Regions from separate parts of the Homo sapiens genome. Here regions 1, 2, 3, 4 and 6 are each linked to region 5. Evidence: promoter capture Hi-C in 16 types of primary human blood cells and fetal thymus (Javierre and others, 2016). All regions are on one chromosome and are shown on one strand. The core of a region is centred on a gene start or on the middle of the fragment in contact, and the rest is flanking DNA. Distances in the headings are between cores, read along the strand shown.

Evidence for each region. The method cuts DNA at HindIII sites, captures the fragments that hold promoters and counts their contacts. A CHiCAGO score of 5 or more calls a contact.
Region 1: a contact is called between a fragment that was not itself captured here and the fragment with the promoter of MAP3K7 in region 5, in 1 of 17 cell types (naive CD4 T cells). The highest score is 5.6, in naive CD4 T cells.
Region 2: a contact is called between a fragment that was not itself captured here and the fragment with the promoter of MAP3K7 in region 5, in 1 of 17 cell types (non-activated CD4 T cells). The highest score is 5.9, in non-activated CD4 T cells.
Region 3: a contact is called between a fragment that was not itself captured here and the fragment with the promoter of MAP3K7 in region 5, in 7 of 17 cell types (fetal thymus, naive CD4 T cells, non-activated CD4 T cells and 4 more). The highest score is 12.5, in fetal thymus.
Region 4: a fragment that was not itself captured here is called in contact with the fragment with the promoter of MAP3K7 in region 5 in 1 of 17 cell types (monocytes); the score reaches 5.1 in monocytes.
Region 6: the fragment with the promoter of MANEA here is called in contact with the fragment with the promoter of MAP3K7 in region 5 in 4 of 17 cell types (total CD4 T cells, naive CD4 T cells, total CD8 T cells and 1 more); the score reaches 9.5 in total CD4 T cells.

The regions. Positions count from the first base shown.
Region 1 is chr6:87,584,785-87,588,329 of GRCh38, reverse strand. All of the region lies in intron 1 of RARS2 (arginyl-tRNA synthetase 2, mitochondrial), which reads left to right. Among named protein-coding and RNA genes, the nearest start is that of RARS2, 3.4 kb to the left of the region's middle. The HindIII fragment of the contact is 2,536 bases long and covers 489-3,024 here.
Region 2 is chr6:87,402,225-87,406,002 of GRCh38, reverse strand. No RefSeq gene overlaps it. Among named protein-coding and RNA genes, the nearest start is that of CFAP206, 3.9 kb to the left of the region's middle. The HindIII fragment of the contact is 1,468 bases long and covers 1,620-3,087 here.
Region 3 is chr6:87,152,816-87,156,320 of GRCh38, reverse strand. It overlaps ZNF292 (zinc finger protein 292), which reads right to left and starts at 756. Exons shown (of 8, transcript NM_015021.3): 1 at 562-756. The coding sequence starts at 729. It overlaps LOC124901355 (translation initiation factor IF-2-like), which reads left to right and starts at 1,074. Exons shown (of 2, transcript XM_047419630.1): 1 at 1,074-1,345; 2 at 3,019-3,505. RefSeq lists enhancers at 449-788, 1,059-1,218. The HindIII fragment of the contact is 3,192 bases long and covers 1-3,079 here.
Region 4 is chr6:87,477,321-87,480,965 of GRCh38, reverse strand. It overlaps SLC35A1 (solute carrier family 35 member A1), which reads right to left. Exons shown (of 8, transcript NM_006416.5): 2 at 3,427-3,604. Among named protein-coding and RNA genes, the nearest start is that of SLC35A1, 6.2 kb to the right of the region's middle. The HindIII fragment of the contact is 966 bases long and covers 1,688-2,653 here.
Region 5 is chr6:90,584,824-90,588,415 of GRCh38, reverse strand. It overlaps MAP3K7 (mitogen-activated protein kinase kinase kinase 7), which reads left to right and starts at 1,344. Exons shown (of 17, transcript NM_145331.3): 1 at 1,344-1,652. The coding sequence starts at 1,533. It overlaps LOC124901363 (a long non-coding RNA gene), which reads right to left and starts at 1,622. Exons shown (of 2, transcript XR_007059680.1): 1 at 461-1,622. RefSeq lists silencers at 1,212-1,408, 1,405-1,524. The HindIII fragment of the contact is 2,842 bases long and covers 913-3,592 here.
Region 6 is chr6:95,575,975-95,579,729 of GRCh38, reverse strand. MANEA (mannosidase endo-alpha) reads right to left here and starts at 2,195. Exons shown (of 5, transcript NM_024641.4): 1 at 2,092-2,195. It overlaps MANEA-DT (MANEA divergent transcript), which reads left to right and starts at 2,279. Exons shown (of 3, transcript NR_104136.1): 1 at 2,279-2,637. RefSeq lists enhancers at 1,596-1,695, 1,159-2,099 and silencers at 1,896-1,955, 2,236-2,325, 2,376-2,455. The HindIII fragment of the contact is 3,606 bases long and covers 1-3,563 here.

The DNA of each region.
Region 1 (3,545 bases), core at 507-3,006, 3.0 Mb after region 5:
AATGAATGATTAAGTTATTTGGGCAGAAGTCTTCTAGAACAGTAAAGTTATGCTAATGAAGACAAAAAATAATAAATTCATGTTAATGTAGACAGTAAACCATATCAGGGAAGGTAGTTTTGGACCTTAGTATCTAAGCTGTGTGTAAGGGTGGACGTTTTCCATTCTTAGCCCTTAAGTAAAGATAGTGCCATGATGAGAAACAAATTGTGTTTAGTTTTGCAAAGGCTGTGTTCTTTGTAAAGACTGTAAATTGGACCAGGCATGGTGGCTCACACTTGTAATCCCAGAACTTTGAGAGGCCGAGGTGGGAGGATCCCTTGAACTGAGACGTTCAAGACCAGCCTGGGCAACATAGGGAGACCCCCATCTCTATAAAGAAATAAAAAACAAAACTTAGGTGTAGTGGCACACACCTGTGGTCCCAGCTGCTTGGGAAGCTGAGGTGGGAGGATCGTTTGGGCCCAGGTGGCTGAAACTAGCAAGCTTTGATTGCACCGCTGCACTTCAGCCTGGGGGACAAAGTGAGTCCCTGTCTCAAAAAAAAGAAAAAGATAAGTTGGAGAAACAAGAACTAATATATTGAGTATATATTTGTGCTAGTTACTACACATTCACATTTAAGCTCATGGCAACCCTGTGATATAGAAGTATTAACCTTATTATATAATTGAGTCAGTTGAGATCCACAGAGATTAAATAACTTACCCAAAGCCACATCATCAATACATTGTAGAGTTGGTTTATGAACAGAACTCTAACTTTAAAATTAGATCTTTCCTATATACTGTGCTCTTTGTGAAAGCAAGAAGCACAGTCCAATCATTGAACAGAATCTAATGGATTTATACAGCAGTGTAAATTATGCAGATATATATGTATTTCTCTGAATATAGAGTCATTGGGGAATGATCTGAAACTTGAGGATAAATAATAATATTTTCAATACGTTAGGACATGGGGAAAAAAGAGCAAAGAAAAAACATGTTCCGTACAGTTTGAGCATCCCTAAGCTGGAAATCTGAAATGCTCCAAAATTTGAAACTTTTTGAGTGCTGACATGAGACTCAATGTTCATTGAGTTCATTGGAGCTCAATTGGAAATTGGAAATGTTCATTGGAGAATTCCAGATTTTCAGATTAGGAGCTGGGTATGGTGGCTCATGCCTATAACCCCAGCACTTGGAGAGACTGAGACAGGCAGATCACTTGAGCCCAAGAGTTCAAGACCAGCCTGGGAAACTAATTAGAAAATTAGTTGGGCATGGTGGCACCCTCCTGTAATCCCAGATACTTGGGAGGCTGAGGTGGAAGGATCACTTGAACCTGAGAGGTGGAGGTTGCAATGAGCCAAGATTGTGCCACTGAACTCCAGCGTGGGTGGTAAAGCAAGACCCTGTCTCAAAAAATAAATAAATAAATAAATAAATAAATAAATAAATAAATAACCAACCCCACAGATTTTCAGTTTAGGGATGCTCAACAGGTAAGTATAAAGCCAATATTCCAAAATCTGAAAAAATTCAAAAGTTGAAACACTTGTGGTCCCAAGGATACCCAGCCTGTATTTAATACCTTTGCGAATGAGCATCGTTTTGCTATAATAGTTTAGGAATGAAGGAATGTGTAACGTGCAATGGCAAATGCATTTAGCTAACTTTGATTAATTAGTCGACAGTTTTCTAAGCACTGTCATCAGTCCCAAGGCTAAAAGTGAACGGAAAATAGTTTCTGCCCTGAAATGGCCTCAGACATGCTTGGAAAACGATGTAAACCGGTAATTGCATTGCAGCCTGTAATCACTGTATTAGAAGCATGTGCAAAGTGCCAAGGGAACTTGAAAGCTCCTAAGGGTCAGACAAAGTTTTGTAGAAAGGTGATGTTAGGTCTCAGTTTTGAAAGGGATATGGGTAGGAGTGTGCCAAGTAAATAGAGTGAGAGCTTGGGGAGAGGTCAGGTATTGCAAGAGGAGGATGTGCATAGACACAGACATCTGGAAAGCATGATATGTACATAGAATCACAATATTTGGATTCCTTTCTTCAGCAAGTCCTGTTGATTTTATCTTTATATCTTGAATCCATCTACACTATTGCTGCTGCCTCCCCCTCTCCTTTCTCTATTCCACACCAAGCCCCCATTATCACCTATATTGACTGCTTACAACAGCCTTCTGATGGGGTGTTTGTTTCCATTCTTGCCCTCCCTCCAGTTCATTCTCCATGTATCAAGAAAGGTGACATCTAAATTGTGAATCAAATCATATCACTTATCTTTCTTTGTTGCACGAGTCTCTACCAGAACCTTAACTTCTTCAACTTCCATTCATGCCCCATTCTATCATTTTTGTAGGAACCTAGCTACAATGTTAATTTGTTTTTCTAACATAGCAGGGTCTTTCCATTCCCATTGCGTAGATTATTCCTTGTGCCTAAAAGAAATGCATTTTATACTATCACTCTTTATGCACGATGAAAGTTTCATGAAACAATACTTATTTATACTGTATTCTGTCCTGTTTTATACGTATTTTTTAAGACTGGTGGTTGGGACTCAACAGAATTTATTTTTATTTTTATTTATTTATTTATTTATTTTGAGATGGAGTCTTGCTCAGTCGTCCGGGCTAGAGTGCAATGGCGTGATCTCTGCTCACTGCAAGCTCCGCCTCCTGGGTTCACGCCATTCTCCCACCTCAGCCTCCCGAGTAGCTGGGACTACAGGTGCCCGCCACCACACCCGGCTAAATTTTTTTGTATTTTTAGTAGAGACGGGGTTTCACCGTGTTAGCCAGGATGGTCTCGATCTCCTGACCTCATGATCCACCCATCTCAGCCTCCCAAAGTGCCGGGATTACAGGCGTGAGCCACCGCGCCAGGCAAAGGAATTTATTTCTAACTGGCAACCTATAATTTGAAAAGTGTGTCCTCTAGTTCTCTTAGTCCCTTGTTTGCTTCTATGATGACAATAATAAGAGTAATTGTTTTGTTTTACTTGTTTTAGTGTCTGTTTCCTCTATAAGCTTCATGAAGACAGAACATGTCTTATTCACTCTTATTTCCTCAGCACCAGCAAAGTGCCCGAAACATAAGTGTTTAATGTGTATTTGAAGAATGAATACCTGAGTATCTCTGTTGTGATCTCATATAAAATATGCAGCTTCACTGAATGAGTTCATAATTTTAAATCTATGGAGATGACGTGGTGTGGTGGCTAAAGGAACTCCATCTTGGATGCTAATCTGCCATGTTGACTTTTGATTATCCCCAGTTCCAGGAATACCTGTAAGATTTCTATTTTATCTACTGTTTATAGTACTTAAGGGCAGGATTTCTATTTTATTTACTGTTTATAGTACTTAAGGACAGGATTTATAATTCTTGCCCTTAAGCAAATGATAGGCTATGACATAGCATTCTTGATTTTTTCTAAGGGGTTGACTTCGGTTGTCTTAGACATCCCTTCTGAAGCATGGTTACCCCTTCTCTATGGTATATACCATAGAGAAGCCCTGGGTCTTGGGGTAGATAACTGCACAAGGATTC
Region 2 (3,778 bases), core at 1,104-3,603, 3.2 Mb after region 5:
TCCTTCATGCCTCTTAGCATCCACACCTTTGCCATGGACTTTGGTGGAGTATACTTCCCCAATCCTTGATTTTGAATTTAGCCATGTGACTTGCTTTGGCCAATAGGTTGTGGTGAAGCAACGGTGTGCCAAATCAGATCCAAGATCTTAAAGAGACCCCATATTTCTGCTTTCTCTCTTGTGCCTGTATCATTGCCATGAGAAGTACATACAAAGCAAGCTCTTTGGTCCCAGAATCACATGCATATGGCACAGAATTGCCTGAACCGATCTTTTAGTAAGATGCAGAGATGCCCAACTAGGGCCCAGCCTAGATCAGCCAAACTCCAGTCAACCTGTAGATGTGTGATAATGAATGAGTATTGTTTTAAACCGCTGAGTTTTTGAGTGGCTTATTATACAGTATAAGTGTGGAAAGAGTTCATTTATAAACCTTTCAGTGATTTAAATTTCTCATTTATAAAACAAAACAATGGTATCTATCTCGTGGAGTTGTGAGAGTAAAATGAGATAGCCGTCATGAAGCACTTAGCACAGCATCTGACATAGATAAAAGGATTCATAAATTTTAGAAACTAGTATTTTATGACCTTTATCATGGTTATTATTGACAACATCAACTATGACAATATATTTTATACTCCCATGGTTTATTGGACTTCTAGTCTTTGTAGAACTATTTGTTCCTAGTTTTAACACGGCAGCAATGGCATTTAATTAAAAAACACGGAGGAACCAGAGTGCATCCAGAGAATAAGAAAAATTTTGTCAGAATAAGATAGAGAGAACTGGATATATTTACCTTGAGAAAAAGAAGGCATGAGAACTCTTCTCAGTTTTGTTAAAAGAGAAACCAAGTTTTATGTTGTTTCAAAACACCAGATTACAAATCTACATAAAACAGTCTTAAAATAGAATTGTGATGGAAGTCATCCTAGAAGAAGTGAAACCCATTTTATCAAATGTTTTTTATCTAAAAGCTAAAAGATTGCCTTTAAGAATATTGTAGAATTAATTTCTTCTGATTAAGTATCTTTAATATGTCACAAACTGTTCAACATTTAAAGAGAGAATTATATATTTTTCCTTTTCCTCAGGCTTTAAGAAGTTTTAAGCTCAAATGAGTTGAGCTTCTTAGCATGTTTAATAATTTTTTATTGAGCCGGGCACGGTGGCTCACGCCTGTAATCCCAGCACTTCGGGAGGCCAAGGTGGGTGGATCGCCTGAGGTCAGGAGTTTGAGACCAACCTGGCCAACATAGTTAAACGCCGTCTCCACTAAAAATACAAAAAATTAGCTGGGCACGGTGGCGGGCGCCTGTAATCCCAGCTGCTCGGGAGGCTGAGGCAGGAGAATTGCTTGAAGCTGGGAGGCGGAGGTTACAGTGAGCCGAGAGATCGCTCCATTGCACTCCAGCTTGGGCAACAAGAGCGAAACTCCGTCTCAAAAACAAACAACAACAACAAAAAATAATAATAATTTTTTATTGAATACTGGACGTTGTGAATTGCATCCTTGTTCAGTGTCTGAATTGTCCCCCTTTAGGAAGGGTTGTGCTGTTTTTTTCAGCCAGTTATTTGTGGATGAGTTTGATTCATTTGTGGACTGTTTTTAAGCTTTATTAGGGTAGGTCTAGAGTAGTCTTCATTCCAGAAATAATTTGACCTTACTACTAATTAATAACTGCTCAGAGGTCTTCAATGAATTCCTTGGTTTTCACTGAGGACTCTTCACTCTGGCTGGTCAGAGCTCAAATGTCTTCTCATCCTCTGTGAGCTCTAAGAATTATTTAGCTTATACTCCCTGGTCATTCTGTGCTCGACTGTGTGGATTGTCAATCCATACATGAACAGCCAAGTACTTAGCAAAGTCTCAGATTTATGAATTCTATTTATTTATTTGTATAGCTTCATCCCTTCCAAAACTTTGCCCTTCAATTTCCACATCTGTGAACTCTGATCTCTGTCTCCTCAACTCAATAAAGTCCCTAGGCAGTGGGTTTACCTTTCTATGCCCAGGATCTGGAAACTGCCTCCAGGCAGAAATTTGGGGGCAATAATAGCAAACAGTTGTTTTATATATTTTGCCCAGTTTTCTAGTTGTTTGTGGTAGGAAGTTAAGTCCAGTCCTTGTTATTCCATCATGGTCAGAAGTGGAACCTTGGGTAACCTTGGAGAGAGGCTAATAGGAAATAACCATCTGGGAGGGTAGAAGAGTGGGTGGGCTTACTAGAAACTTTCAGTAACTTTCAGTAATTACTGAGAAGTAATGAATGTGCATCTGAGTGTCAGGATCATGAATTTAAAGTGAAAGCATTTTGCCATGTTAAGTGATTTTCTTTGGAAATTATTCAGCAGCTCAGGAGCAAGCATGATCTTGAAGAATGGTTGGCTTGACCAGGAACTAGCGTATTGCCAGACTAGCATTATCATGCTAGACCATGCATTTAAACCAATGTAGAGCAACAAAAGCAATTTACTAGTTTTTTTGTTTGTTTGTTTGTTGTGAGACAGAGTCTCACTCTGTCACCCAGGCTAGCATGCAGTGGCACAATCTCAGCTCACTGCAACCTCCACCTCCTAGGTTCAAGTGATTCTCTTGCCTCAGCCTCCTGAGTAGCTGGGACTAAAGGCATGTGCCACCATGCCCAGCTAATTTTTGTATTTTTTGTAGAGACAGGGTTTCACCATGTTGGCCAGGCTGGTCTTGAACTCCTAACCTCAAGTGATCTGCCCGCCTTGGCCTCCCAAAGTGCTGGGATTACAGGCATGAGCCACCGGCCCAGCCAGCAGTTCTTTAGATATTGTGAAGATCTAAGCTAAATTTTTCAGTTGCTAACAAAGATAGATAATTAACATTTGAAAGAGTACTTTGGAGCTTACAAAGCTATTTCACAGATAGATAACTCATCTGTTCCTTAAAACAGCCTCATGAGAGTGAACATTATTATTTCACTTTACAGATATAGAAATCAATATTCAGAGAGCAAGAGACTAGTCTAAGACTGCAAAGCTACTAAGTTACGGAGCCATCTTAAGTCTTATTGCTCTTATAAGTACTTAAAATGAGGGGAATTCTTTTAAGCTTCTGAAAATTCTAGACTCTTTTTCCCAAAAAATTCATAGAGCCCCTAATTTTATATATAATTTCAGATAATATACAGATTCCCTGAAGTTCATGCAAGTGGCAGTGTACTCTTGGTTTAAAATTTCTAATTTTTTCAGCACTGTAAGACAGGGTGGGAAAAAAAAATTTCTAGTTTTTAACTTGCATCTAGATAGTAGTTACATGGCTATTCACTTTATAATTTTTTAACTGTATAGATATATACATATATACACATATACATACATATATGTACATATATACACATACACGTATGTATATGTACATATATACACATATACACATACACGTATGTATATGTACATATATACACATATACACATACGTATATATACATATGTATTTATACACATATGTATATATGTATATATAAATATATATGTTACACTGACTTTTCTGTATATGTTTTATAATAAAAAATAAAGGCTCAATAATATAGAACTTCTCTACTTTTAGTTGTGCTTTGTGGATGTTAAGCATTAAAACAGAGCTGTATTCCTAAAAAATCCTCAAAAGTTAAAAAAATATATATTGTGTTATTCACTTTGTTTTCATTGTCTTTCTCCATTATTATCCATGTGCTTCACAACAGCTCTCCTTTTTTAAAAAAAACACAACCTGTATATTACATGTAGGGCATCGATTTTGAAA
Region 3 (3,505 bases), core at 234-2,733, 3.4 Mb after region 5:
CCTCCGAACATCAACAAAGGCCCCTTCAGTCCTAAGGCGAAACTCGAACAACAAAGGCCCGGAGACAGCCAGGACAGGGCCGGGGCTGGGGGGCGGGACGGATGAAAGCAGGGGAAGGCAAAGGAATCAAACCAGTGGGGGCGGAGGCCCGTCGGAGTGGGAAGCAGAGGCGCAGAGGCGGGAGGCGCGGTAATCCCCAGTGCACAATAAAAGGAGGAGGAGGAAGAGAACCTGGCCTCCATTCTCCTACTCTCTCCAATCCGCACCGTGTACATTTCCTCAGCCGCGGGGACCGCGCAGTCCCGAGTTCAGGGAAGGAAAGGGGAGGGGGGATTTTCCGCCTTGACCGCAACTCCCTTCCCCCAGCCAGGAGCTGCAGACGACAACAACCGCCACAACTGCAGCCACACAAAGGCGCCTTCCTTCTACTCCCGCTCCCACCCAGGCGGAGGCGCCGATGATGCCAAGGAAGCGGCGACCACCTCTCGGCCGCCTAGCGCTCGCTCGCCCTCTTCCCCCTCTAGCTGGGGAAAGGGGGAGGGGACCACCGGGCGCCCTCACCTGGCACAGCTGCTGACAGTAGTCGGTGGCCGCTTCCACGGCCGGTACCCGGCTCTCCCGCAGCTGTAGCTCCAGCTCCTGGAGCCGCTCGCCCAGGCGCTGCAGCTCCGCGACGCAGCCGCCTTCGCCGCAACTCAACCTCTCCTGCTCGGCCTCTTCGTCCGCCATCTTCACACCCCGCTCCGTCGCGTACGCACCTGGGTCACGTGATAACACAATGCCACGTTCGGCGGGGTCACGTGCCGGGCGCGCTTGCACGGCGCCGAGCACGTACAAAGGGCCCGATGGGGAAGATATGGGGGTGGGGAGAGTGGCGCGAGAGAGCCCGAGGGAGGTGAAGGCAAGGGGAAAGGAGAAGGGCGGGGTTGGGGCGGTGCGGAAAACGGCGGTTTACTTACCCCGAGCGGGAAGTGGGCAGCAGCGGCCGAAAGGGGCGGGCTGGTGAAGGCCTGCTCTCGGTCACGTGGGCGCCGCGACGGGAAAAAGCCTAGGGAGGGGCGACCCTCTCCGGCGTCCCGATCCCGGCGTGGCTTTCCCCAGTCCACGAAGTCTTCTACGGACATATCCTCCTGTTCCCCAAGAGGATGGCACAGGGAGAGTTCTGAGTGGTCTCGGGCAATGGCTGCATTTGCTGTTGGCCTGTAAGCAGGCCAGAAGCAGAGGAAGAGAGAGAAGGTAAAACCCGCCCATGGACCGCAAGCGTGAGAGCCAAGGCAGGACTATGAACTGTCAAAATTGTCTCTGACTTCTCACCAGGCCGGAGAGGAGGGATCTAGTGCGTGAGGTACCAGATCTCGTCTCACTTGACTCTCCTCCTCTTCAGCACCAAGAACGCCTGTCCCCTGGAAACACATTCTCTAGGGGGTGGAGGCAACAAAGGAAAAGAACAATTGGGTCAGAGCAGAATGAGGTTCAATCCTCAGTCTGGAGAACGGAGCAAATTCATGAAAAGCATAGTTTAAAAGAAGTCAGAATATGAACAGACCAGATGACTTTTAAACCACGAAAACATTTCTAGAATAAGTGATAACTAACTACTCTGTTTCACCGTGATTTAGACTCTACTACACTCTACAGAAATCACCAACAATGACAACAGGCTATATATGAAAGCTATTGAAAAGAAAGTAGGTCAAGGAAAAAAAAAACACCAATAAGGACTCCATTAAAAATCATAACGGAGGAGAGGAAATTGATGCTAAAATAAAACAATATTGTCGAGAATTATTATAAATATCTACAGCATTTTTTTTTCCTAATGCTACAAATAGAGGTAGCATTCTGAACCACATTTTACTTACAAGCTGAAAAGAATTAATACTTGGCACTTGAACAAAAGAGTAGAAGAGGTGCTACAAAAATCCAAGAGCTTAACCCTAAAGTTCTTAATAAAACTAATATTTTTTTTACCGTTAGAGCATTAGACAAAAGACCTATCTCTCTTGCAACTGAATAGTCTACAGAAATTTAGAAACAATGATATTGATGAGGCACCCAGTCTTTTCATTTACTCTGAGTGAAGTATATTTTTTTAGTACAAGGATCTAAAATAAAAATACTTCCCATTGTGGGCAGCGTCCTCTTCAAAAGATTTCTAGTAATTAATGGAAAGTGTTCTACATACTATGTTGTCCAGAATAAATGTTTTATAACGCATCAGTGATGGTGATGTTTTTAAAGCGGCATTATATAAGGTGACCAGGCACAGTTAAACCCCTTATGAAAAACAGTATCAGTTAATATTACATATTAACAAGGTAGAATCTTCAAATGTTTAATCTTCAAATGTTTACTCATGGAAGAGACTGGGAAGTACATTCAAAGGCTGAGAAGAGAGGATATAATAGTATCACTGAGTTGAAAAAGGAACAATTAAGGCAGCTAATGATTTTTAATATTTTCAGTTCACTTTCCCAAGTTAAGTATTTTAGATACCCAAACCAGGTTTCACCAGTTTATGTTATCTTAGGATTCCAGTGAAAAAATGCAAAAAGGGAAATATGAGGTTAGCCAAATGTACCCGTAAATCCAAGGTAAGGTATCACAGGTTAGCAAGCTCATTTCCACTTCAAGTATAATGGTTTACACCACACCTAATCTATAGAAAGAAAGAAAAAATGGGGGTTGAGGGGTGGGAGACATATATATCCAGATATTGATTTTTAAGAGAATTGCCTGATAATGTAGGTCATTCCTACCTCTTGCACATAACAACCCTAAAACTATGGAGACTTGATTAGCAAATTGATTCTGAGCACCATTACTATCTGGTAAATGTCCATCAGCATGGATGGCCATGTCTTTATGTTTATTTAGTATCTGTGAACCCTATGTCCACATTCCTCCATTTCTTCTCCTTTGCACACACATAGAAATATTTAGAGCCTACAGGAAATGTAAGGATTGGGGGTGAGTGGTGTAATTAACACTCATTTATTGTGTACTTGATATTTGCAGGCACTACTTGGTTTGGGACAAGTCAGAGGCGAATAAAAGCTCTTCCTGCCTTGAAGAAGCTTACAGTTTTGTGGGAAAATGATCTGCAATGGGAATACATACGATATGACAAATGTTCTATTATGAAAATGCATGCCTGTATTCAACTTAGAACATCAAAGTAATCTCAGATACTAACAAGAATGTCCAACGAATCTCTACATAAGTGCAGGCTTTTTTTTTTTTTTTTTTTTTTAATGAGAAGGATTGAAAATACTATCCCGTGACAGGTCAACCTTGTCTTGGAAATCTCAGAAATCTCAATCTTATCCATAGAAAAGTCATGACTTCTGTGCTTATGTCCATTTGTTCTTTAAATACCAAACTGTCAGCTCATAGGAACCATTTACACACACACACTGACACACACACAAACACGCACACCCCTACTTACTGAGATGTTCCTGGGGAGATTCGAAGACCTGTTCCATTGAGAAAACAAGAATAA
Region 4 (3,645 bases), core at 921-3,420, 3.1 Mb after region 5:
GAAAGAAGGAAAACTCAAGCCAGCCTGAGAAGGACCCTACCTTGTGCTGCTAACCACCAAGACTATGGTTTGTACCACAGAAGGGGGATGGACACATCACACCCGAGTCAAGCAAGCACCATTACCATCAGAATCATGGACCATTGTTCCTGGATCAAGCCTTACCAAATTAAAGCTAAGAAAAGCTTAGTCTATCTATCTTTTCCTTCCTTTCCTAACACAGTGCCTATATCCATTACTGTTCCTACCACTAGCAACTCTAACCCCACTTTAGAGCGTTTCTATGGTTTAGGAGCAGAAGTCACTGGAAAGGACCCTATAGGCTTCTTTAAGATGCGCTTTGTTCTCCCTGCTCTACCTCCTACAACTGCCCCTTTCACAAACCTACGAAATAAAACTATGCCTCGCCTCATGCCAAATGACAAAAGCAAGGTCTCAGTAGTAGAAATAGGAGACCTAAGGCAAACCATAGCTATTGACAGGGTATAAAGATGTAAATGCCTGGTTAAAATGTATTAAATATTCCATTCACACTTTAAACAAAAGTAACTGTTACACTTGTGTGCACGGTAGGCTAGAGGCCCAGGTTGTTACCTTTCCACTGGGATGGTCCTCAAATCAAGTGGACATGGAGTGCATGGTAGCTTTTTCAAGATTCTACTGCCTGGAATAACAAATTGTGCTAAGCTCTTTCTCTGCTATTTCCTGAAGTCCAACACCCTGCAGGTCAGCCCCCAAGGGCCATCCAGCCTCCATCTTCCAAAACCAATTTTACCTCGTGTCTCTAACGACACGGGGAAAAATTTGGCATTTCTTGGAGACTTAACAGGATGCAGTGAAGTTAGGCACTTCCAAGAGGTGACCCGTCAATCTGCCCTTATTCATCCCTGAGCGGATGTATGGTGGTATTATGGAGGACCTTTACTGGACACTCTGCCAAATAATTAGAGCAGTAGTTATGCTCTAGTTCAATTGGCTATCCCTTTTACTCTGGCATTTCATCAACCAGAGGAAGGAAAAATAAGACATCATAAAGTGAGAGAAGCTCCTTATAGGTCATTCAACTCTCATGTCTATTTAGATGCAATTGGAGTCCCACGGGGAATACCAGATCAATTTAAAGCCCGAAATCAAATAGCTGCAGGATTTGAGTCAATATTTTGGTGGGTCACAATTAATAAAAACATAGATTGGATAAACTACATCTATTATAACCAACAGCAATTTATGAACTACACTAGAGATGCTGTTAAAGGAATAGCTGAGCAATTAGGGACTAACTGCCAGATGGCTTGGGAAAATAGGATAGCCTTAGACATGATATTAGCAGAAAGAGGAGGAGTTTGCATCATGATTAAAACTGAATGTTGTGCCTTCATCCCAAACAACACTGCCCCTAATGGAAGTATAACAAAGGCATTGCAAGGTCTGACTGCTCTGTCCAATGAGTTAGCCAGCAGCTCAGGGGTAAATGACCCCTTTACAGGATGGCTAGAAAAGTGGTTCGGTAAATGGAAAGGAATAACAGCCTCAATTCTTACTTCCCTCACAGCTGTAATGGGTGTACTTATTCTTGTCGGGTGCTGTGTCATACCATGCATCTGTGGGTTGGTGCAGAGTAAGTGCTCATAGAAATGGCACTTACTAAAACCTCCCTTAACTATCCTCCACCTTATCCAGAGAAGCTTCTTCTTTCGGAAAATTGAGCAGAACTAAGCCAAGGCATGTTAAAGAAGTTTGAAGAGAAAGAGGTGTAAGGAAAATGCAAGAGGAGGGGATTGTTAGATATGAGTTCTAAATTTCTCTTCGAAGAATCAGTATGTCAGTATGTTCAATTCTTTGCCTTCTACTTTTAAATTTAACTTCCTCGTAAAGCAACCTTTTCTGATTACCCTCTCCACCCTGACTCATTCCGATTTCCTGCTCTGCCATAACCATTTTTCCCGCCAAACCACTCATCCCATCACTCTCTTTAAATTAGCCAACTGGAATTAGTTTAGCCTGTGCAGTCTAACCCTAGCCAATAGGGGAACGACAGAGCCATAGAGGCCACGTGCATAAGGAATAAGTCCCCTTTTCCTCCCTTGTCCAGGTGTGCGCTCACCATTGCTCCATCTGTGAGGGCACACCCTTCTATAGAAGGAAAACTGCCTTGCTGAGAAGAAAAAAAGAAAATTTTGTATTCGAGTGCTGTTTTTTTGTGTGTGGCACTGAAACTTTATTTATAACACATATTTTTCATATTCGAACTACTTCAAGTGGATTAGTATAAGCCTTTTCAAGATCTAGAACCAATTTTCAACACTTTCACTCGGTATCTTTCCCAAAATGATAGCCATGCTTGCAGTTGCATTATCAACTGTCTCATCACACACTGCTGAAGCTGAAGCAATCACAATGTCGTGTAACATTTCAATATTTAAATGTAATGTCTGTTTCTACATAAAAGCCTACACACAACACTATTCCTCCCTGCTTCCCTTCACTCACCAACACACATCTTGAAACCTGTATGACTTCTTAACTGCCCCAATGACTCCTATAGGTCCCCATCTCATAAATCTTTCCCCTGGTAATTTACCTATTAGATTTTATTTAATTTTCAGCACCCCATATTATTTTCTCAAATTAAAAAAATGAACAAACTGAAGCTTAAAGAGGTTACAAGTGTGTATGCAGCCACAATCTCAGTCTAGGATTAAAATTAGGTCTATCTCCTCCAATGCCCCTAATTCTTAACCCTCTCTTATACCACATCCTTAGCTAAACAATTCTTGCATGATGTTTTTGATTCAAAGCCCGGTGCTGCCACATATTAACAGTGTAATCTTAAGGAACCTCAGATGCTGCGTCAATAAAACAGGGGTAAAGTACTTACCTTGAAAATGTGGAAGAAGTAAATGAGAAAACACAAAAAACACATAGCACAGTGCCTAGCACTTAACATAGGAAACACTCAAGAAATGTTATTATTATTATATTCATCCAAAACACAAGTCAATAATTGTTTTCTGTAAGGGCCAAACAGTAAATATTTTAGGCTTTGCAAGCCAGTCAGTCTCCATTACACCAAAACCAGGGAGCAAGCTGGATTTGGCCCATGAGACATAGTTTGCCAACTTCTATTCTACAGCAGCGTTCTTCAACCTCAGCAGTACTGACATTTGGGGCTGGATAAATCTTTGTTGTGAGGCTGTCATGGGGATTGCAGGATGTTTAGCAGCATCCTTGGTCTCCACCCACTAGATGCCAGTAGCATCTCTCAAGTTGTGACAACTAAAAAATCTTCTGGGGGGCAAAATCACCCCTAGTTGAGAAACACTGACCCAGAGCAATTAAACATATAAAGATGTAGCTTGAATTTTCTAACAAATACCCTCACCAGGTAGAAAAATAATTTAACACACTATAAGTATTTATACTCACTTAGCTAAAATTCCCACACTTAGCAATAACTTTATAACTTCTGTGATACACACGGCTGTGGTTGAAAAGTAGAGTTCTTTGTCTGATGTCCTTGTGTATCTTAAAGCTATGGTATAGACTGCAGCCATCAGGGTCATCACTGCCAAGCAGTATAACTTGAATAATAAAGTGACATTGTCTGGAAAATACGTGCAACAAAGACATTACTTAGTAGACAAT
Region 5 (3,592 bases), core at 95-2,594:
AATATATTTGTGGTGGGTGACAACTTTTGAATTTGCTGTGGTATCTTGAAGTTTAGGTGTTTGTCTAAGTAGAGATGACCAATAGGTCCAGAATTCAGGAAAAATCTTGAGTATTTGGAGATTAGGAGTCATCATTATAAAAATAGTATGAGAAACAGAGACCTTGGGTAAGAGCATGCAAAGAGAGAGTGTACAGTGAAAAGAAATTATCGTTTCTTTCATTTTTTTATCCACTCATCAAACTGTCACTGCGTGTCACTAGAACTACGAATAAAAAGTGACAGAATGTTTCCCAGGAGTTTGTAACTTCTTGATGGTCAAATCCAATGATCTATTTGCAATCCCAAATGTGTTTAACATAATTCCACAGTTAGGCTTTATGTCAAACGGACTATATAAAATTCAACAGTTAGTTTAAAACTAAAACTTGTGCTGGTAGTACAACATGAGCAATACTGACCATCTTGGGGACAGAATGATCTAGTTTGTGAGGACCATAATTGCTTTAAACTCTCAGCGTGTTTTCTCATGTCCTGAAAATGGTGACAAAAATATTCGATTTTCAAGGCGACTGTTGATGATTCATTTACCAATCTAAAGCACTAGTGCCCCGCACTCGTAATCCATAACTTGAGATGAACACACCAAATTATAAATATCTTATTCACCTAATCCGTGGAAAGTTTGTAACACCAAAATATTAACTTCTGTTCTTGATCACTCAGCCTCCATAGTTATTCATGTTGCATGATCTGATTCGCTCTTTTAGAATTTCTCATAGCGTCAGGTACTAGCTCAAAATAACAGGAGCAACTGCTTCTTTCCATATCCCACATTGAGGAAAACACATTTTGCAAGCCGTCTTAAAGAAACAGGTCAACTTAGTTTAGGGATGAAACTTAAAAGTAAGCTTCGTCACAAAAAACACAGTTCAACACCACCTCGCCCGGCTGCAGGCAGCTCAGAGGACAGGAAGTGAGGCCAAGACATATTTCACGCAGCACAGACTAAACCCCAGCTTTTATCTTTCCCGCTGGTCCTTAAGGGACCAACCGTACTGATTTTCCGTCATGTTCCGCGCCACTTCCGTTCGCGCACTTTAATTACGTCAGGCGTCCTCTCTCGCGGTATCATCCGGTTGCTGAGGCCCTGTAATAAAGGTCTCGCGAAATTTGTTCTAGAGGTCCAAGTTTGCTTCTTAGCTTACTCCACCCCACCCCCAACCTGTCCCTCCTTTTCTTTCCAAGTCACAAAATTCTCCCCTCCCCTACCCCGGAGTTTACGGCCCTCCTCCTGTTTCCGATTTCAGCCCGGAACCGGAAGTGTAGTGGGCGGGGCCCGTCGGCGGAAAACGCAGCGGAGCCAGAGCCGGACACGGCTGTGGCCGCTGCCTCTACCCCCGCCACGGATCGCCGGGTAGTAGGACTGCGCGGCTCCAGGCTGAGGGTCGGTCCGGAGGCGGGTGGGCGCGGGTCTCACCCGGATTGTCCGGGTGGCACCGTTCCCGGCCCCACCGGGCGCCGCGAGGGATCATGTCTACAGCCTCTGCCGCCTCCTCCTCCTCCTCGTCTTCGGCCGGTGAGATGATCGAAGCCCCTTCCCAGGTCCTCAACTTTGAAGAGATCGACTACAAGGAGATCGAGGTGGAAGAGGTGAGCGAGGCCCGGCATGGAGACGCCGGTCCCGGCCTGCCCCGCCCCCGCCTCTGCCTGGTGCCGGCTCTGAAGGTGCCTCCCGGGGCCCCTCTAATTCGCGGGACCCTGCGGGGTCCACCCGGGAGACCCCACAGCCCTCAGTAACGTGGGAGTGGGGGTTACTCTCTGAGCTCAACTGCTCGGGAGTAGCTGCCTTTTTTCCTCTCTTGGGTACTCTTGATTTTGGATTTGATATTCCGGTGATAAACAGGAGAATGAACTGGTGAGATAGTGTGGTCCACCAGTTCTCGTATCTGTAAGTAGTAGTTTCAGCGAAGATCGTAGCCGTTCTGGAGTTTCAGTCCGCTGGACGTAATGTTCTTTTTTTTTTTTTTTTTTTTTTGAGACGGAGTCTCGCTCTGTCGCCCAGGCCGGACTGCGGACTGCAGTGGCGCAATCTCGGCTCACTGCAAGCTCCGCTTCCCGGGTTCACGCCATTCTCCTGCCTCAGCCTCCCGAGTAGCTGGGACTACAGGCGCCCGCCACCGCGCCTGGCTAATTTTTTGTATTTTTAGTAGAGACGGGGTTTCACCTTGTTAGCCAGGATGGTCTCGATCTCCTGACCTCATGATCCACCCGCCTCGGCCTCCCAAAGTGCTGGGATTACAGGCGTGAGCCACCGGGCCCGGCCGGACGTAATGTTCTTAATGGCCAAAGATTGTATTATATTCGACTTCTACTTCAGTACCTGGCATGTAGGGGATGCTCAATAAATGCTTGTTAAATTAGTAGATCATCAAGTCTAATAAAGTGTTTCCCTTAGCACCGAATGGTTCTCAATTTCTCCGATACCGCACAGCAATACTCGTAATGTTTAAATGCTCGGCTTTCAGTTGGGCTAATGTAGGTGAATTTCACCATAAGTAACATAGACTGGTCTACGATCAAAAGATGTTTCAAGTAGCATATTCTGAAGAGATAACGAATGATTTCGGTGACAATCAGAATATAATATTAGACTAGAAATCGCTATCAGAAAACCCATATCCTTTCTTTATTCTGCAGTAATTTATTTTAGAACAAGATATTTCAAAGTGACTTTAAAGCGTCGTTTTTCAAATTAACAGGTAAATTGGGTTCTAATGACTATAAAATTTAGAAAAGTAAAAACTGCATATATATTTTTTAAAGACACTTTAGAACTTGTTAAAAACTTTGGTTGAAAATACTATCTCTTACCATTTATTTGCCATTTTTTAAATTTATTAAGCACTTTGCGTTATATAGTCCATGAAAAACCTAGTGAAATATTATAGATTGTCAACGAGTTATGTCTACTTTAAAATTCTAAAATTATTTTTAAGTGTCAGCAAGTTCAAAGTAGTGAGATAACGTTCAACAAATAAATTTTTTTTCCTGTGCATGTTTTGGAAGAGTAATGGATTACTGAATTATATATGTTTTATCACATAAAGTAACTTTAGAGATTATTGAGAATATCCTCATTTTACAAGATAATATGGTGGAAAGAGCAAGGTCTTTGGAGTTAGAGGAAAGTTCAGTGTATCAGATATGCCATTTATTAGCTGTGTGATTTGGGGCAAGTTTCCTAACCCCTTTGAATTTTAGTTTACTCTAAGAAAGGGCTAATAAATTCTGTTTCATTTTATCTGCATAACAGATCTTAGTAGACATTATATGCAAAACACCTACCACAGGGCCTGACACATATTAGGAAACCTAGTTCCAGAGAGGAAATGTGACCTGCTTTAAGGTCATATGGCTAAAAGAAGACCTGTATTTTGAAAAGAGGGGGAAATGTTTTTAGTTTCTTTTTTTTTACATTGAGGCTATGATAAATTCCTTTTCCAGAAGTGGATAGTTGATGCAGCTTTCATGGCTAATATTCTTTTTTAAGAATAAAAATTCAGTGAGTCAGTATACAAGAATTGCAGTTT
Region 6 (3,755 bases), core at 946-3,445, 5.0 Mb before region 5:
AAGAGACCCCAAGAGATTCAGAAGCAGGGTGGTATGAATTAGTACTTCAAAAATTATTTGCTTTTATCATGTAACTCACAAAAGCCAAAAAGACTTCCCTTTCAATTAACTAAATTAAATCACACAGACTTCTGGTGCTTTTTTTAAAAAATATATTGTTTTCTTCTAATTTTATTTTGTATGAAGCCACCGGAGATAAATATAACTCAATACTAGAAGACACATCTGGAACTTTCAAAATCAGTTTCAAAATCAATCCTTGCCCAGGTCAGTTTTATTGTAAACACTTGTACCCTCTGGTTAACAGAAATTCAGTGAGGTTTAGTTTCTGTTTTTTGTTTTGTTTTGTTTTGTTTTTGAGATGGAGTCTCACTCTGTTGCCATGCTGAAGTGCAGTGGCGCCATCTTGGCTCACTACAACCTCCACCTCCCGGGTTCAAGCGATTCTCCTGCCTCAGCCTCCAGAGTAGCTGGGACTACAGGCGCACGCTACGACGCCCAGCTAATTTTTGTATTTTTAGTAGAGACAGGGTTTCACCATGTTGGTTGGCCAGGATGGTCTCGATCTCTTGACCTCATGATCCACCCACTTCGGCCTCCCAAAGTGCTGGGATTACAGGCGTGAGGCACCGCGCCAGGCCGCAGAATTTTTTTTAACCTCATTTTACAAATGATGAAGCTGAGCAGTTGGTAACTTTTTCAAAAATCTCTGGGCCAGCAAATGGCCAAGAAACCAATCTAAGGTTAATCACCTAGCAAGGAGCAGATCGAGTCTGGCTCAAGAACTCAAGTTCTTGTCCATGCTATTCTGCCTTCCTTTAAGGTATTAGACAAATCAAATTTAGAGGATACACCAGTTATTTTTGTGACACAAGATGAAAGCTGCTGCTATATGGTTATGTTTTCAATTAAGGATTATGTACCTAATAAACAATGATTAACTGTTACCTACTCCATAAACTGTGCCCAAACTTCATCTAAAGACAGCTTATTCTATTTTATGATCATACATTCACTATTCGTCACACGAATAACAGCAACAGCTCTGGAAATGGTGTTTTCATTGTTGTGATTTTTTGTTTTGGGGGGTGTTTTTCTGCATTGAGCCTGAAAATCCACAAATTCACAGCACTCATGTTTTTTTCAGGTGTGATACACCTGAAATAGATGTATTGTCATGAAAGTGATTTGCAAACAACGTGATACAGTATCACCAATATCTAGGTTTTACTTTATATTTTTGTTTCAAACTACTGCCTCAATACTTTAACGTGAACAGCCTATTCCAGTCCCATTTTTCTTATTTTCAAGTTCTTAATCAACATTATCCCCCCCTTGTTGTTGTTTTATAGCACTTCCACATTTTCTCCTAACACTTATCCGTAGGGTCTTACAACAACAAAACCAAACAGTTATACCTGCCTGTACTTCAAGTTGCTTCTTTGGAAAAAGGAACAACAAAAACACTAATCCAGCACTGTTGCATCCCGACTTAGCAAAGGCTAAGAGTCTAAGATGACAGTGCCAAACACGTTAACAGGTGAACTGAAAAACCATCTCTAGCGGCCTCGCCATCGGGCGGTCTCCTCCCGATGCCCAGAGGCGACAGCTACCTTTCCGTTGCACCCAGAGCCCAGCAGGCCTCGATCCTTCTACTCTCCCGGTCGGCTCAAGGCCCAGAGGCAGTCTGGGGGCACAAGGAGAAGGTGCTGAAAAAGGCTTCCATCCGACCCGAAATTTCCACCTTGTCGGGGAGACAAGGAAAATCCGAGGCGACAGGAGGTACCGTTTCAAAGAGGAGGCGGCGACGAGGCCAGTGAGGTGGGGATAAAGCAGTGTAAAAGGCAGTAAAACTAACGCAGACTAAAACAGGCCTAAGAGTGACAGCCTAGGTTAATCGAGGGGGCTACAGGCTCGCCGCTGGGCGCCACCAGCGCCTGCCAGAGGGGCGCCGGGTCAAAGGGCGCCCGGAGGAAAGCGGCCACCAGATTGGCTGGCGGGCGAGCGCGCAGGCGCCCGCGGTGGACCTCGTGCCTGCCGCCGCTGCTGGCGCCGCCGCCTCCAAGAGGTCTGACTCCTGCAGCTACTCACCAGGGTCGGGTAATTCACTTCTTGCAAGGACTCGGCCAGAGGAGAGGTTAAGACCGCGAACATAGAGCTGACTGCCGCCGCGCCCCGAGCCCAGACAGCCCCTCCTCCCCGAAGGCGCGCGCACAGCGTTCCGGGCGCTTTCAGGGGCGGGACGGGTGGGGGCGGGGTCACGGAGCGGGCGGGGCTCGGGGTCTTCCGGAGCCTCCGGTCGCGGGTCTAAGAGGACTAGGGCGGGAGCGGCGCGGAAGAAAGAGAGGACTGCGTTTTGGGGCGTTCTGTCAGAGGGGAAGGACGTGTGGATTGGAGTCAGACTGCACTCCCGCCCTATTTCTGCAAGTAGAACTCACTGCCTTTAGAAACGGTCTTCTGAGGCTCTGTTGGGAGGCTCTAACTGTATTACAGAGGACACATTTTTGTTTGTTTTTATGTGAAACATTCAGAAGTTGCTTGCATCAAGTGCTTTACAAGTACACTGGTTTTCAAACTTTTAAAGTTGAGGAACTGTTTTGATTTTTGTAAAAATAGAACTTTACTTGGAAGCCCAAGGTAGGCAGATGGAGATGGCGTTTTTAATTTGCGAATGTATTCTATAAAATCACATCTGTACTGAAGTACTAGAAATAATTGAGGATAAGTCAGATGTGAAGAGCAAGAACTTTTGAAATAGGATTACAACTGAAGGTTTCCATCTTACATTAGCTTCAGAAAACAAGAAAATGCTATCTTTTGTTTGGTTACATAGTAACAGGAAGTCCTTATTCAAGCTAGAACTTGCTGATGTGAACAGTTTCATAAGGGCTCTCCTTAAAAAGATTTTGTACACCAATTTTAATTGGGAAATATACATATGAGTATATCTCATGTGCATATCTTAAAGAAGAATGAAAAATGCCCAGGTACCCACTACAGAGCTTAAGAAAAAAAAAATGCCAGTATTTTTGGAGTCTTCTAGAAAGAAGACTCTCTAAAAACATCTCCTTCCTTCCGTTCACCATTATGCTGAATTTTATATTACTCATTCCGTTGTATTTCTGAAAATAGTTACATATGTACGATTCCCTAAAAATACTATTTTCCTAGTTTTATATTTCATATGTGAATCATTCTTCATTTTTCCCCTTTTTTCACTAATTTAGGTTTTGAGAGGTTTTGAGATTCGTCTGTATACAAGTCCATTTCCCATAAACTAGACTGGCACATCGTTACCCTTATGCTATTGTTAGACTTTTTAAGTTTTTGCTGATAAGAGCATCTGATTGCTCTTTTAATTTGCATTTTCCCTTTTGCTAAAGCCTGTTCTTAATTTTATCTCATTTTTTATTAAATTGCTTGCTTTTGAAAATTATTTTGTAGATAATATTTATTTTTTCTAGTTTAATTCTCTCTTGTAAGTTACATGTGTTGCAAATGTCTTCTCTTAGTTTATGGACTGTCTTTCCAGTTTTTATGATGTTTCTTGATTGCCAAAAGCTTTATGCTTCAGTATACAGCTTTTTGAATTTAATAATATTTTACATTTTAATTTTGTGCTTTTTGCTTTCTTGCTTACAAGATTCTTCCCAACATAACATCAGAAACTATTCTTTCTTCTACAAGTTTAAAAGTTTAATTGTAGCAACTTTAAACACAGAAAGGACAAATAATAATATAATGAACACCCATGC